Linked DNA regions of Homo sapiens: region 2 is linked to region 1. Evidence: promoter capture Hi-C in 16 types of primary human blood cells and fetal thymus (Javierre and others, 2016). All regions are on one chromosome and are shown on one strand. Each heading gives the region's core, a stretch centred on a gene start or on the middle of the fragment in contact. The rest is flanking DNA. Distances are from core to core; before and after follow the strand shown. Region 1 holds the start of CLLU1 (chronic lymphocytic leukemia up-regulated 1). Region 2 overlaps BTG1-DT (BTG1 divergent transcript).

Region 1 (4,632 bases), core at 645-3,144:
GACCCAGCAAGCTGAGCCAGCTCTGTCTTAGGCACTTCCTGGAAGCAGGCTTATTGGTGTTTTCAACACCCAGAGTGGATCATTTGTTAACTCCTTCCTCCTCTATTCCGTACATTTCTTTTTCAGTAATAATCCTGTAATAATCAGTAATAATTATGCTTTTCTTGATTCGCTCTTTAGTTTTATAACAAATACCAGTTTTAAAAAGAAGAAAGCTGTAATTTCAGTGATGTTACTTAGTCTTGTAAAAATACTTCATGTACTTAAAATTGTGTCTAAAAAGCCAAAAATATTCCAGCATGAAGTTGACACTCTGTTTTACTATTCAAAATTTTAAGCACAAGTAAAAACTCTCAGTGGTTCCATAGAATGACAGAAGCAAGCAATTTTGGTTCACTTATTTTGTCTACACAATCACTGTGTTATCATTCTTGATTTTGAATCTGTGATTTGAAGAAGAAACATGTGGTACCCCAAAGACTAGGGCCATGAAATACCCTAAGTATTTACCTGAGTCCTTAAGAGTCAGGGACTGTATACCCGAATGTTTCCCATAATCATTTTCATGTTGAATTCAATGTTTGTTAAGGAACAGGTAATAAAAATATGCAAACTTGAAAGTATTTATATATTTAAAAGCTCAGTGGTGACCACAACAATTATTTAGAATTCAAACCAAGAAAATGTTTTTTCAGGGAAGAGTATTTGACCACTAGTATGATTTAGAATTATGATGCATGGCAATAATTATACCAAACTGCATTTCAGTGACTCTATTATTTTTTCAGATTCTCTACAGACAGTGCAGCCTAGTATCTCCCAGACTTGTACTTCCTATGGCCCTGCACTTGGGGCCCCACTGCCTGGTAGAAATGAAGGTTAGTGTTCGAAAGTATTTAAAGAATCCTGCTAATCCCTATTTTATCCATAAATGTCATCTGTCATAAAGAAACTTTTAGCAGTTTCTCAACTTCTGAGAGGTCTTGTGGGAGGTTTTGCCATAAAGTGCTCTTGTTGAGCTCTTGATATCTATAAGCTGATGCCCTGGGCTTGTCCCAAATGATGCCTCCCACCCATTCATCAGCAGGACACTATCCCAGTTCACACACCTATGCCCCATCTCCACATATGTTTCACCAAAACCATAAATTTTGAAATAGAGTCAATATAAATGTATAACATATTGTATTAGGGCTCTTCAGAGAAAAAGAACCAATAGTATATTTGTGTGTGTTTGTGTATGTGTGCGTATACAGTCATGCACTACACAATGACATTTCAGTCTACAAAGGATTGCATATATGATGGTGATCCCATAAGATTATACCATATTTTTACTGTACCTTTTCTACATTTAGATATGGTAGATACATACATACTTATCATGATGTTATACATACTTATCATGAGGTTACAAGCTACACCATGTAGCCTAGATGTGTAGTAGTCTATGCTGTCCAGGTTTGTGTAGTTACACTCTATGATGTTTGCACAATGATGAAATCACTTAACAATGCATTTCTCAGAACCTGTCTCCATTGTTAAGCAATGCATAACTGGATATGTAAATAAAATGGAAATTGACTCACACAATTATGGAGGCCAAGAAGTCCCATGATCTGCCATCTGCAAGCTGGAGAACCAGGAAACCTGGCAGTGTAATTCAGTCCAAGTCCAAAGAACTGAGAACCAGGGAAGCCAAAGGTGTAACTCCTGGTTTAAGTCTGAAGGCCCACTCACATCCAAGGGCAGGAGAAGATGATATACTAGATCAAGAAGAAAAGAAGCAAATTTTCCCTTCCTCTTTTTGTTTTATTCAAGCTTTCGACAGATTGGATGATGCCTGCCCTTATTGGTGAGAGCCGTCTGCTTTACTAAGTTCACCAATTCAAATGCTGATCTCTTCCGAAAACACTCTTATGGACACACCCAGAATAATGTTTTACCAGCTACCTGGTCATCCTTTAGCCTAGCCAGGTTGATGCATAAATTTAATTATCACACATATAGTCTTACCAATTAGTGACCTTTTCATTCTTTATGGTATTTAACAGTGAAGATTTGTAGATGGTCTGTCTACTTGGTTTTATAGGTTTTGATCAGCACTCAGAAGCTCAGTTTGATCACCCTAGTTTGGCCTGAGCTGAAAGCACTGAAACAGTGAGTTCTTTGGGTCTTACTTCTAGAAACCAGGAAATGAGAGAGATAGTGACTTGGTTTCTCTTATGTTTCCCTTTTGTTCTCTTCTCAGTGGCCTTGCTAACAAGTTTACCTCCAAACTATGAGATTTCAGAAGGAAAACCAAGAGCCATCTCTGCATATGTGAGAGCGGGCAAAGGAAATGTGACAAGGAGAAGAAAGAAGACACACTTGGGCAATGATGATGGGAAGAAGGAAGCACAGGAGAAAATGTAAGAAATGTACAGGTGAGAGAGATCAGGAGAAAGATGGGAAATGTGGGAGAGCAGCAGGAATCATAACAATAATAATGCCAATTTGGAAACGAGAACCAGTGTATAAAGCATACCAATAAGGCCAACGAAGTGCCAACGATGGAAAGCCACCCTATCAGGAGAAAGTAAAGTCATAGCAGATGTTTTATGAGACAGCTCAGAACACAATGACTGACCAAGAAAGCGGCACAAGTTAGAGGTGGAGAAATGACCCAGACCCAGACCTTTAGGGGTCCTGAACTTGGTTCATACCTCATGTCAGAAGGAGTAGTGACCAAAAGAAATTCTCTTTGCTTTAATTATAGAAGCAGGAATATACCTGATTTTGTATGTAACAGCATATGTTTAAGATCTGAATATTTCTATACCCAAAAGCATAATGTATTAGGGTTAATCATTTGAAATTGCCAATATGCACTCATTTTACCTATAAAAACTGTAATTTTGCATGGTTCAAACTAATAGATATGAAGATATTCTCAAGCAAACTTTTTTTTCTTTTGCCTTGAAGCCCATGAGGAAGATCCAAAGAGAACTTTGGCCTTAACTAAGCTTCCTACATTCTCCTGGAGTCGGTGGTTTATGAATGTGGTGCCATCTGGGGAACTGACAACCCCTGATGTGTTCACTCTGCTCGTCTTCCAGGTGAGAGAAGAAGAAGGCGAGAAAGAAAGAGAAGTTCCAGAATTTCACAGGCTGAGGGAGATGGTAGTAACTTCTGTTTATGTTGGTTTCTGTTTATTGGTTTGCTTTTTATTTTGAACTCGTTTGACTTCAGGTTCCAGATTTGTTTTTTTCTTTGTAAACGAGACTTTGACATTGTTAGCAGGCCCATCTGTTTGCTTTTCTTAAATAAAATGTAAATTGGTTTTTGTTTTAAATTTCAGGTGCTTTTAAGTTTGACTCTGCTATTCATTTCCTAAGGTAGTTTGGGCATGGTAGTGCTGGTAAGAACAGAGAAATCTTGCTTTATAGAATCTTTTTGTTCAAATGAATGTACATTTTTAGTATTCGAAAATTATCAGTTTTAATAGGTTTGATTTTCCTGTCTATAATCTGTGTTTTCTTCCTTATTCCCTCATTCTTTCCTATCCCATGGGCTCAGATTTATGCTCTGATCAAATTTCTTTTCATATCTTTCCACCTCACAACACACACAAGAAACCTAATACAAGCCACTATCTGTTTCTTTTTCAATGGAAAAGAAAAGGATTCCTATGGGATCATACTGATTCCTGTGGGCCCCTTGCATAAAAGATTGTAGTGCATTAAATAATGACCCTCCATTGGCCAATCAATCATTATTGAGCACCTAGTTTATGTGGAATACTGTTCATACAATATCTTGAGTAATGATGGGAACAGATTTCATGAGAGATGTTGAAATACTCATGGACATAGACTATCTTGGCAATTATGCTCTTGAGATTCTTTTATAATGGACACATATTTGGAACAGAAAAAAGCTGGAAACTTTCACAAAGGTTTGATCCAATGGCTTTTTAAACATGAATCTAACCATTGTGAAGTTTGGCATCTACTTTGTACCCCCAGCAGTGCCAGCCCGTGTAAGGTATGCAGGTAACAGACAGATGATTGTACTGGGAGTGGTGAAAGTCCTGCCTTAACAAATATTCTCTGTTTTCTCTGCCTCTGTCATACTATAAAAATGTTTTCTTCTCTGGGATTATTTTAAAGATACCTTTATTCCAGGTAGTATTTTATCCCCTGGGAGACAGATCTTATCTAACCACAGATTAGAAAGAGCAGCTGATCTTCAGCCTGGGTGACAGAGCAAGACCCCATCTCTATAATATATATATATATATATAATATATATATTTTATATATAATATATATATATAATATATATATTTTATATATAAAATATATATATTATATATATAATATATAAAATATATATATTTATATATATATTTTATATATATAATATATATATATATATATATCAGATTAGGAAGGCATGGTGGTGTGCACCTGTAGTCCCAGCTACTCAGGAGGCTGAGGAGGTCCAGGAGTTCGAGGCTGCAGCAAGCTACGACTGTGCCATTGCACTCCAGTCTGGGTGACAGGGAGAGATCCTGTCTCTGAAAAAAAAGGAGGAGAAGAAAGAGCAGCCGATCCTATCTTCACATGGCAGGAAACAAGGTCATGAGCA
Region 2 (4,632 bases), core at 1,106-3,605, 240 kb after region 1:
GGAGAAGTGGAACTGTGTCGCACGTTGCTTTATGCAGATGAAGTCCCCCAAGTGATCTCTTGGAGCTGCCCTCAGAAGAACAGATGAAAAGTCTGTCTGGGGCTGGGTGCAGTGGCTCATGCCTGTAACCTCAGCACTTTGGGAGGTTGAGATGGGAGGACGGCTTGAGCCCAGGAGGTTGAGGCTGCAGTGATGCAGTGGCCCAGATTTCACCATTGCACGCCAGCCCGGATGACAGAGAGAGACCCTTTCTCAAAAAAAATAAATAAATAAAAAGTTTTTCTGGGCATGGTGACCCCAGTCTCTGCTTTTCTCTGGTGGTTGATCATTTCTGGTTCTTTGATGATATTTCTAAAAAGGGAGTCTTAAGACAATTGCATTTCTCTTGGAAAAAAGTTTTCCTGATCAGATAAGAAAAATTGAAAGAGAAACTCACCCTGTTCTTGGAGAGGCAGGGACAGGACAAGGTGTTAGAAGGGTTTTGATTCTTAGGCAGCTTCTAAAGCTTCTCAGCATGCCAAAGTGCTAGTCTTCAGGATTTTGCTTTCTGAACCCCAACAATATGGAACTCCTTCTCGCCATTTACTTTATTTTTACTTTAACCCATGCACTCGACCTACATTTAGGGAGTATCTATTGTGTGTCCCATACAGAGCCAGGTCATGGGGGCACAAAGAAGATTACTTTATTAAAGAGTTTGCAATATTTTTAGAAAGGTGCATATTAAATGGATCCTCTGGAGCTATAGTAACAAAGAGGGGGGAAAAAGTGCATTATCTTGGGTGATGAGGGAGCACTTTCTTTCCTTCTTTTTATTGAGATAGGATCTTGCACTGTTGCCTGGGCTGGAGTACAGTGGCAGCATCTGGGCTCACTGCAACCTCTTCCTCCAGGGCTCAATTGATCCTCCCACCTCAGCCTCCTGAGTAGCTGGGACTACAGGCACGCATCACCATGTCCTGCTAATTTTTGTATTTTGTGTAGAAACATGATTTTGTCATGTTGTCCAGGCTGGTCTCAAACTCCTGAGCTCAAGGGATCCACCAGCCTCAGCCTCTCAAAGTGTTGGGATTACAGGTGTGAGCCACCATGCCCTGCATAGGGAGAACTTGCTGAAGCAGATAAAACTTATAGTTCTCACAAGTTCTTTACGCATCTATTCAAAGGTACAGGAGCAAAATGAAAGTATAAGGGAGAAAGAAGGACACAGACTTGGTTGGACAGGCCATTCTCACCCTCTAGATTAAACAGAAGATGGTCTCTTGAGTGCCCAACGCCTTGCTTCAAATAGAGTTGCATCCAGCATTTCAGACACATGGATATCAATGCATAACAGATTAAAATCCTGCACTGTAGCATTGCATTAAAAAAAGAACATTTGAGTCTTCTGCTTATGAAAAAATGCATATATTTTAAAAGAGGAGACTGTATTGCAAAATGTATATACATTTATGATTACCAATTCACTGGAACAAAAGGTCACTGATCTCTAAGTTATTTGCTTAATTGATCACAGGTTGCCATGACACATGGCAATATATAGGCTCTCTTTAAGGCTTCTTTTTAAAAGAAATATTTTATTAAATCTAATTTCATCAGTGTAATAATTTCTAAAACTCCCCTGCAGCTAAGTGGTAACTGAAACCTAGATGTTAACTTATCATTGCACCTCGTTTTGTGAGAATAACTTTGGAGGTGCAAGAACACTTATTTTCAGCTCTTGGAATGTGTGAAATGGGTGATCTCTAGACTTTGTGAAGTTCACCTCCACCTCCCCTCCCATCACACCTAGATTCTTGGTGAGTGTAGGTGTTATGTTTTCTGTGATAGAGGTTTTGTCCTCAGACAGAAAAGCACATGAGCAAAGTATGTCACAAGGATTCTATTATATTTCTACAACAAATACTGTTGGTATGTTCTAAAGCTGCTTCACCCCAGAGCCAGGCTCTGAAGCTGTATTGAGGATGTCTTTGTTTTCAGAAGGCCTTGGTATTTACTAAGGAGCAATTATTAATCTGACATAGGTAAACAGAGGGGTCTTGACCATGAGTGAAAGTGTAAAGTAGGTAAATTTTTCATTATCTTCTTATTTCCCTTTGCTATATAAAATGAGTCTGAATAAGCAAAGAGAACAGAAAGATTTTCAATGTACTTCAAAAAGTTTATTTATTTAAAATTTAATGTTTTATTCCTTTAAGAATTAGGAAATGGTAAGGAACCAATAGGATTGTCATGAAAAAAATATGCTACCATGACATCTTATTGCTTAGAAAAAGAAGCAAGTTTTTTCCAACTATTTCTTTTTCTATTTTAAAACAGAGATAGGATCTGGGTGCAGTGGCTCACACCTGTAATCCCAACATTTTGGGAGGCCAAGGTGGGCAGACCAGCCTGGCCGACATGGTGAAACCCCATTTCTACTAAAAACACAAAACTTGGCCATGTGTGGTGGTGGGGCACCTGTATTCTTAGCTACTCGGGAGGCTGAGACAGGAGAATAGCTTGAAACCAGGAGGTAGAGGTTGCAGTGAGCTGAGATAGCGCCCCTGCACTCCAGCCTGGGTGACAGAGTGAGACCCCATCTCGAAGAAAAAAAAAATAGAGATAGGGTCTTACTATGTTGCCCAGGCTGGTCTTGAACTCTTGGCCTCAAACAATCCTCATGACTTGGCTTCCCAACAAATACTATATTAGCATTATAGGTGTGCCCACTGTGCTGGGCCTCCAACTGTTTCTTCAAAGTCATTTTACCTGTCCAACTTTCAGACAAGGCCATCTTTAAAATTCTTTAAAATATGTAGCTTCTCAGGGTTCAAAGTAAAATAAAAGTGAAAAAAGTACAAAAAATTAAAAGTTTAAAAATACAATAGAAGATATGTACCCTACTTCCCAAAGTACGTATACATGCAAATGGATTTGTATATGTACAAATGAATTCACATTTCCCTTCCTCAGCCTCCCTTCCCTCAAGAGCCAAATCTATTCCTCCATTCTCTTTATTCCTTTTGTTTGTTTGTTTGTGAGGACAAGGTCTCTCTCTGTTACCCAGGTTGGGGTGCACTGACGTGATCATAGATCACTGCAGCCTCAAACTCCTGGGCTCAGGGATCTTCCTGCCTCAGCCTCCTGAGTAGCTAGAACTACAGGCACCTCTCACCACACCTAATGAAGCGACGTCATAGTCTGGGCGTAGGTACCCGCGGTTTGCCAAGAAGATTAAGGACATGGACACACGTGGGTGGGTTAAGGAGCGGAAAGTTTAATAGGCAGAAGAAAGGAGAGAGGAGAGAGAAAAGTAGCGTTGTGGTTCTCCCTCTCTCCCTCTCTCTCTCGACAGAGGGGCATCCGAAAGGGAAAAGCTGGCCTATGGCAGACCACAGCACATTTTATAGGCAGGCTTGAGGAGGCAGTATCGGATTTACGTAGGGCCCATGGATTGGTTTGACCAGGGGTGTCCCTTACATAGCGCAGGGAAGGCTGGTCGCCCCACCCTAATCTTATTATGTAAATGGGCTTTCCGCTTAGCCAGCACCATCTCATCTGCTCCTTACTGCACATGTGGCTAGCAAAGAGAAGGAAAGATGGAGCCGCCATGTTGATCATGCGTAGTCCCAGGTAGCCTTTTCCTGTTGTCACAACTGCCAGGGCATTCACCTGTGCAATCAGCTTACTTGTCTATGTCTGCAGCTCGATTTTACAGGCTGCTTTGTTAGAAAAGAAATGATCTGGGGGCTGCTTTTCTTTAAAAGGAAAACCTTATCAGGGACTCCCGTACTCTCACTATCTGCCAAAATGATTTCTTCTTAACTCCTGTATCACTGGCTAATTTTTTTTTCTTTTTTTTTCTGTAGAGACAGAGTCTGACTATTTTGCCCAGGTTAATCTCAAACTCCTGGCCTCAAATAATCCTCCTGCCTTACAAAGTGCTGGGATTAGGAGCGTCAGCCACCACACCTGGACCCTCATACTCTCTTTAGACTCAGACTCACCGTCTCTTGGGTTGGAATGAGATGGGGGCTGGGGTGGCAGTTGTTCTTGTCCCCTTTGTGTCAGGCTGGCTTCTGAATGTCTTGCTTCAACGCTGTCACTCTCTACAGACAGACGCACTGATCCTTCTCATTTTAGGGGTTTGTCTGTCAATCACTATGGAGGAAACAATAGCAGAGGGAGTCCACAAATAACAATAGGGCAGTTACAAAGCTTAATTCTTAAAAGGTCCTCACTCCCTTGCTGAGAGGGTTATAGAAAAAAGTCCTTGGAAGGCTGCTGCCTGACTTTTTTCTTTCAAGGTGGATCTCTTCTGATTAGCTTGTTGGTTGAATTGAGCTCAGTGTTTTGAAAATTATCCTGGGGACAGATTCATCCAAGTAGGTAATTTGCGTCTGTGAACTCCTGTGGACTGGGTAGTCACAATTTAATGACTCTGGTTTCACTCAAACTTGGATATTTTCTCACTTTGATGGCTACACAAATATCCCTGATTTTTTCTTAAGAAATAGGCAAGTGTCATGATTTTCTTACAAAATAAAGCCAATAATTGTTAAGAACCTTGTAAACGCACTGGAAAGGGGGTTATGTTTAAGGAAAGAATTGCTTCGTTCAAAAACACTTATTGCTTATCTACCTAAAGTG

The links. Contacts are between HindIII fragments. The CHiCAGO score rates a contact against its expected background, and 5 or more counts as called.
Region 2: a fragment that was not itself captured here is called in contact with the fragment with the promoter of CLLU1 in region 1 in 2 of 17 cell types (naive B cells and total B cells); the score reaches 5.3 in naive B cells.

Annotation. Positions count from the first base shown.
Region 1 is chr12:92,418,793-92,423,424 of GRCh38, reverse strand. CLLU1 (chronic lymphocytic leukemia up-regulated 1) reads right to left here and starts at 1,894. Exons shown (of 2, transcript NR_027933.1): 1 at 1,590-1,894. It overlaps CLLU1-AS1 (CLLU1 antisense RNA 1), which reads left to right. Exons shown (of 3, transcript NR_144319.2): 2 at 2,252-2,411; 3 at 2,965-3,339. The HindIII fragment of the contact is 1,184 bases long and covers 1,824-3,007 here.
Region 2 is chr12:92,175,683-92,180,314 of GRCh38, reverse strand. All of the region lies in intron 2 of BTG1-DT (BTG1 divergent transcript), which reads right to left. Among named protein-coding and RNA genes, the nearest start is that of BTG1-DT, 32 kb to the right of the region's middle. The HindIII fragment of the contact is 3,695 bases long and covers 508-4,202 here.